Linked DNA regions of Homo sapiens: region 1 is linked to region 2. The links are contacts of gene promoters, found by promoter capture Hi-C in blood cells and fetal thymus (Javierre and others, 2016). All regions are on one chromosome and are shown on one strand. Each heading gives the region's core, a stretch centred on a gene start or on the middle of the fragment in contact. The rest is flanking DNA. Distances are from core to core; before and after follow the strand shown. Region 1 overlaps RPS6KA5 (ribosomal protein S6 kinase A5). Region 2 holds the start of TTC7B (tetratricopeptide repeat domain 7B).

Evidence for each region. The method cuts DNA at HindIII sites, captures the fragments that hold promoters and counts their contacts. A CHiCAGO score of 5 or more calls a contact.
Region 1: a fragment that was not itself captured here is called in contact with the fragment with the promoter of TTC7B in region 2 in 1 of 17 cell types (megakaryocytes); the score reaches 6.1 in megakaryocytes.

Annotation. Positions count from the first base shown.
Region 1 is chr14:90,899,713-90,903,157 of GRCh38, reverse strand. RPS6KA5 (ribosomal protein S6 kinase A5) reads left to right here. Exons shown (of 17, transcript NM_004755.4): 9 at 189-350; 10 at 2,422-2,547; 11 at 2,917-3,050. Among named protein-coding and RNA genes, the nearest start is that of LINC02321, 73 kb to the right of the region's middle. The HindIII fragment of the contact is 2,511 bases long and covers 514-3,024 here.
Region 2 is chr14:90,814,399-90,817,758 of GRCh38, reverse strand. It overlaps TTC7B (tetratricopeptide repeat domain 7B), which reads left to right and starts at 1,329. Exons shown (of 20, transcript NM_001010854.2): 1 at 1,329-1,584. The coding sequence starts at 1,464. RefSeq lists a silencer at 1,156-1,335. The HindIII fragment of the contact is 10,969 bases long and covers 1-3,360 here.

The DNA.
Region 1 (3,445 bases), core at 520-3,019, 85 kb before region 2:
ATTGGTTGGAGCTATAAACTGCTGTGATCTTGTTTGGAGAAAATATGTTTTTTATTATTGATTTGAAATATGTTCTCTTATTTTTATCCTCTCTCCCTACCAGTCAAAATCCTAATTTATCTTTGTTATTCTTAGAAAGTACATTTTGACTATTGATTTCTACTTTGTACCAACTTTCTTTGTTTTAGAAAATAAATTGGGATGATTTAGCCGCCAAAAAAGTGCCTGCACCATTTAAGCCAGTCATTCGAGATGAATTAGATGTGAGTAACTTTGCAGAAGAGTTCACAGAAATGGATCCCACTTATTCTCCCGCAGCCCTGCCCCAGAGTTCTGAGAAGCTGTTTCAGGTAATTTCCCATCCTGTGCACATGCACATTGGCCATATGTCCTTTGAAAGAAAAGATTAAATTTCCCATATTGAAGTAGTTTTGTTGGCATCATAAAAATGGGATTCTCTAATATCCTCTAAATTATTAAATGCAGAAATATTGCACATTGTTAACCGAAGCTTATAGTTTGCTCAATAGCAGATATTGTTTATGCATTTATTTTTGATATAAGGGAAGTTTTAATTTTATACCTGAAATTTTATTTTTGTTCAGATTCTTTTATAGAAAATACAATAATCTTTTATTTTACCTCTATTCATATTTAAAAATTTTTATTTATATAGACAGGGTCTCACTCTGATGCCCAGACTGGAGTGTAGCAGTGCTGTCCTAGCTCACTGCAGCCTCAGACTCCTGGGCTCAAGTGATCCTCTCACCTTAGCCTCTGGGATAGCTGAGACCACAGGTGCAAACCAGCACACCCAGCTAATTTTTCTATTTTTTGCAGAGATAGGATCTTGCTATGTTGCCTAAGCTGGTCTTGAACTCCTGGCCTCAAGTGATCCTCCTGCCTTGGCCTCCCAAAGTGCTGGCATTACAGGCATGAGCCACCACGTCCAGCCAAAAAAATTTTTTTTTTTTAAGAAACAAGGTCTCACTCTGTCACCCAGGCTGGAGTGCAGTGGCATGATCATAGCTCACTGCAGCCTTTTTAACTGCTTGGCTCAGGGGATCCTCTTGCCTCAGCCTCCTGAATAGCTGGGACCACAGGTGCATGCCACCACACCCACCTAATTAAAAAAAAATTGTAGAAACAGGGTCTTACTTTGTTGCCTAAGCTGGTCTTGAACTCTGGCCTCAAGCGATCCTCCTGCCTTGGCCTCCCAAAGTGCTGGGATTCTAGGCATGAGCCACCGTGCCCCTCAACCCCCATATAAAAACATTCTTTAGTTCACAATGTTACCTTATTCTTTACCTTCAGTAATTAATCTTAACTGCTGTTAAAAAAAGATTTAGATTTTATATTTAGAAAAGGGCATTTGTCACACAAGATAAAATATTCTAACTATTAAATGGCATCAGAGCTTTGCTTCTTTGACTTCTATAAGTATACCTTTAGTATGGCTTAATCTGGCCATCCAGACGGTGTCTTTTCTTCTTTGCTTATCACTGTCTAGTATGTGACTGGGCACTTATTGAACATTTTTTTAAATGTTTGTTGATTAGTGAATGTTCTAGCTTGAACGGATTAATCATCCGTCTTTGTACCACTTAGCTCAGAGCATCATTCTGCCATTAGACTTTGTTCCTTTCCAAAACTCAATTTTAAATTTAATTATTCTGAAGATATTAATAAGAATCAAATAATTGCTAAATTAGAAACTAACTTTAGTGAGACTTGCCATTTTTCCAGTTTGAAAAACAATAGCATTTAAAGACCACTTTGTGGCTGGGTCTGGTGGCTCAGGCCTTTAATCCCAGCACTTTTGGAGGCCGAGGTGGGTTGATCACTTGAGGTCAGGGGTTTGAGACCAGTTCGAGACATGGTGAAACCCCGTCAGGCATGGTGGCATGTGCCTATAATCCCAGCTACTTGGGAGGCTGAGGCAGGAGAATGGCTTGAACGCAGGAGGCAGAAGTTGCAGTGAGCCAAGATCGCACCACTGCACTCCAGCCTGGGCAACAGAGCCAGACTCAATCTCAAAAAAAAAAGACCACTTTGTTTAATACCTTGACTGTATCCTTTTTTGAGAAGTTAGTTATGTTTGTAAACAAATTTCATCAGCAAACCAGGAGAATTTCATCTATGAGTCTGATTTTGGGGGTGGAATAGGGAAGAAGTCTTTTTCTACCTTTATTTTTGAATTGGTTTAGTTCTACCAGAAGATGGCATTATATCCTTCTGAACAGCATTTTTCAAATGATTTGAAATAACCTTGCATTTTAGATTGCAAATAAAATAAAATTAGACTCATCTCAACAAATATTTGAGTGTTTTTCTAAGGAAAAAAAGTCATTACAATCTAATCTGTGTTAAACTGGAAAACTGCAAGTTGTTTTTCTTTATCTTTCTTTGTCTTGTTTTTAGGGCTATTCCTTTGTTGCTCCTTCCATCCTATTCAAGCGTAATGCAGCTGTCATAGACCCTCTTCAGTTTCACATGGGAGTTGAACGTCCTGGAGTGACAAATGTTGCCAGGAGTGCAATGATGAAGGTATATAGATGTGGTAACTTATATGACATATTTGTAGGTTTTGTGAGTGTTTAAATACCAACTCTAATTAATGTTCTTAAGTCTAGTAATTCAACTAAAGTGCAATTTTAAAAGTGGGATATAGCAATATTTTCCCTAGAGAATTAACGTCAAGTTGAATGAACTTCTTTTTACAATTATAGAGAATTATGTATCTTAAATAATTATTTAGATGAAAATAGAAGTTACCTATAAAGATGAATTTTAGATTATAAATGTATTCTATTCCTGTTTATTAATATTAATAATTTTATTTTACTCTACAATTTTATTGATCCTTTGTGTATTACTGACATTTTCTGAAGTTAAATGATGTTGATTTCTTGACAGGACTCTCCATTCTATCAACACTATGACCTAGATTTGAAGGACAAACCCCTGGGAGAAGGTAGTTTTTCAATTTGTCGAAAGTGTGTGCATAAAAAAAGTAACCAAGCTTTTGCAGTCAAAATAATCAGCAAAAGGTATGACCATTTTTAATATAATATTCTTTCTTAGGTATTCATGAATTCTGTAAATTAAAAGATATTTATTTTAATTGAAACCAGTATTATATTGTAAGACTTTCTTACCCAAAGGTTTAACCACTTGGCTCATCAGTTGGTCCATTATACTTTTAGCTCTAATTGATATTTTCTGATAAAGTAATCCATTTTAGACATAAATCATAGTCTTATTTGCTTTTGAGTTTATCTAGAGAAAACGTCTTTGTGACAGTGACATATTTAATCAGGCTCACATAGTGATTTTGGCAGCCATTGCCATTTCTACTAGTTGTGTATTTGAAATATTTTTCTCTAAAATTATTTAGCAAGCTACTGATAGCTTTGAGAGCCATCTAGTTGTTTTGGTAACTGAT
Region 2 (3,360 bases), core at 80-2,579:
CTTCGCTCCACCCAGCCCCTCTGGCCTCTGCCATTTCTCCATCCCACCCAGTGTGCTCTAACCCCAGAGCCTTCGCACTTGTGGTGTTCTCTGCCTGGGATACTCCTCCCCCAGAGATATCCTCATGGCTCCCCCTTAGTTTCTTCAAGTCTAATGCCACCTCCGTGAGGCCATCCCTGACTGCTCCATTTTAAATGGCAACACTTGCTCAGGCTGAAGTGCGTTCACTGCTCACTGCAGCCTCCACCTTCTGGGCTCAAGCAATCATCCTGCCTCAGCCTCCTGAGTAGCTGGGATTACAGGCATGAGCCACCCGCCTGTCCCAACTCTTTATGTTCCTCACTGAACCCTTCCCTGTTTCTTCAAATAGCCATTTTTACAGTCTAGTTTACTATTTTATTTTGCTTATTTTTCCCCCAAACTGGAATGTAAGCTCTCTCAAGCCAGGAATTTTGTTTTTTTAGCTCACAATTCTATCTCTGGCACCTAAAGCAGCGCCCAGCACATAGTAGGTGATCACTAGACAGTTGATTCACTGAGAGAACACAGAGGGACACCTCCCTAGGTCTCAGTCTAGGTGGCCAAGACAGGAGGCCCCACCAGTGACTGTGCCTTCCCCTCAGGGGGTCCGAGAGCTGGCGTGTGAGAGTGGCAGCCCCTGCCTGGCTCCGCTCAGCCATCTAGGGCACCCCTGGCAGGTGCTGTGCCTTGCCTGGGATGGAGGAGTCTCCGTCCACCTCTGGCTGGGTAGGGGCTAAGGCTGCGGGGCAGAGGGGCATCTGCTAAGGGGCACAGGCCAACCGGGCCCCAGGGAACCGCTGGCCACCTGAGATGGCAGGACAAACTCGGGCAGGCCTCCCCCCACCCCTCACACCTGGCTCACTGGTCCCACCGGGCGGTGACCTTCCCCAGGGTCACTGCCCTTTCTTGGCCCTACTCCTGGGGATCCAACCCGCTCCCAGGCTGTCGCTAGCTCCCTCCCGATCCTCTCCCTCCCCTTCATCCTGCCCAGACCCCTACCCCACCAGACCCCTCACCCGCCCTTGGTCAGATCTCTCTCCTACCCCGCTCCCCCACCCCCATCCCCACTTCCCCTCGGTCTTCACCCCGCCCCAGACACCCCCAGTCCCTCTCCCTGTCCTCCATGCCCACCCCGCCTTTCCTCCCTCGGGCCCCTGTCTCCCGCCCTAGCCCCCGCCCCTGCCCCAGCCCTGGCTCCGGCCCCGGTCAGTGCTGCGGCTCCGGCCCTGGCCGGCAGGGGCCGCTCCTCGCGGCGCCCGGGGCCCCGCCGCGCCCGCCGCCGCCGCCCGCCTCCCCGCCCCTTCCCCAGCCGGCGCTCCCGTTACGCCGCGGAGCCGGGAGCCGGAGCCCGAGCCCGCGGCGGCGGCGGGAGGCGGCGAGGGGGCGCCGCGGCGGCGGCGGTGGGGCCTGCGGGGCGGGCGGCCGGGCCCGGCCAGGCCGCGATGGCGACCAAGAAGGCAGGCTCGCGGCTGGAGACGGAGATCGAGCGCTGCCGCTCCGAGTGCCAGTGGGAGCGGATCCCTGAGCTCGTCAAGCAGCTGTCGGCCAAGCTCATCGCCAACGGTACGCTCCGGGCGCGCCGGCCTGGGCTGCGGGGGGCGCCGCGGCCTCCGCGGGAACGGGCCCCCGAGGCGCGGCCGGGCGCGGGGCGCGGGCAGGGGCGCGGCCGGGCCGCGAGGGAGCTGCGGCCCAGGGGATGTGCGCGGGACCGGGGCCTGGGGGAGCCCGGGTGCCCCGGAGTCACGCGGTGTGGGGGCCCGGGGGGGCGCCAGGGGCTGTCCCGGCGCCTGGGGTTCAAGCGTGCAGGGCGGGCTTCTGCGGAGTCTGGGGTGTCCGGGGGTCTCAGCGAGTCCGCTGCTCCACTGGGACCACAGGAGGTCAGGGGCCGGCCTGGGGCTTCCAAGAAGTTGGAGGTGATGGGGTGAGGGGGTCCCTCAGGACATGGGTGAAGTCCACAGTGTGTGTATGGTGTGCTCAGGGAATCAGGATGTGTTTATGGGGTCTTGAGAATGGGGTGTTGTACATAGACCCCTGGGGAATCTGGTTTGTAAACATATGGTGTTTAAGGGGTTCTGGGTGGAAGCGCAGACTCGAGGTGTGTGGGGTGGTGGTAGAAAGCAGGCTGGGATGTGCGTCCTGGCGTTCGGAGAAGTAGCATCAAGGCTGCCGACCTAGAGAGGTCAGGGTTGGGAATAGAGGAGAAATAGAGTCAGGGGGACCTGGAGGGAGAATATTGTGGAGCGAGATGGGAATGTGGTTGAAGAATGTCGGGAGATGGAGTTGGGTGGGTGAGGGGTTGGTGCCTGGGCCAGAAGGGGGTCTGAGGCAGCCTCTGAGTAGGAGCCTGGTGCCTGGAGTTGGTTCATGACCCCTTTAACTGGATTGGTTCTTGTACCCAATCAAATAAAATTGCATCCAGAATCCCATTCCAGTGCACAGCTCCACGTGGCCTTATTTGTTTTGGAAGCGAGTATCTTTAATATTTGCTTGTCTTTTAGTACCCGCCTAAAGCGCAGGCACCAGCACACCGTGGCCAGAGGGCAGAGGGTTTGTCTCATTTCATCCTGGGCTTCCCCAGGCCCAGTGAGCACATGTTGGCTGAACAAATGAATGAAAGAGTGAATGAATGGATGGCGGGGCTGCTCTAAGAAAGGACATCTGCACTATTTTCAACCTTCTCACTTCAGACTACCCAGAAAGGAGAGGGATGTCAGGTGTCCTCCTGGAGGGTGGTTTATGTTTGTGTCCTATGGTATTAGTGCCTGGAAATTAGAACTTGGTTTTGCGCACTCTCAATGATGGATGCATGCTGTGGGCAGGTACCTTCTGGGTGAACGCAGGTGCCATGGTGTGTCAGGGGCATGGAGATAGCACCGACCCTACACGGGCTCCACTTGGTGGAAAATGTGGACCCTTCTCAGTTATGTCAGCCTTTGAGGAGATGGTGTTCAGTGCCCTGGGCCCCAGAGGCAGCTTGCCTTTGCCCTCCGTGTCGGGCTCACCTGCTTCTCCGCTTACCTGCAGCATTTTCTCTTTTCCTCTCGGAGTTGCACAGTCCTGGGTCTACTTTGTGGCTTCCCAGCGGTGTAGGCATAATGACACCTTCTGTGCAGGTTGATTTTAGGATTAAATGGGTTTATTTGTGAGCCTCCTGGTCTTTTTTCTTCTGAATCCACTTGTTTCCTGCTGTCTTTGCTTATTCATTCACCCAATATTTGCGTGCCCACCTGTGCCAGTCACAGAACAGTGGTGAACAGCACTGACCAAGCCCCTGCCCTTATGCCCTCACCCTGCTCTCAGGAGGCAGGTGATAAGCAAATATGGAAATAAATAAACAGC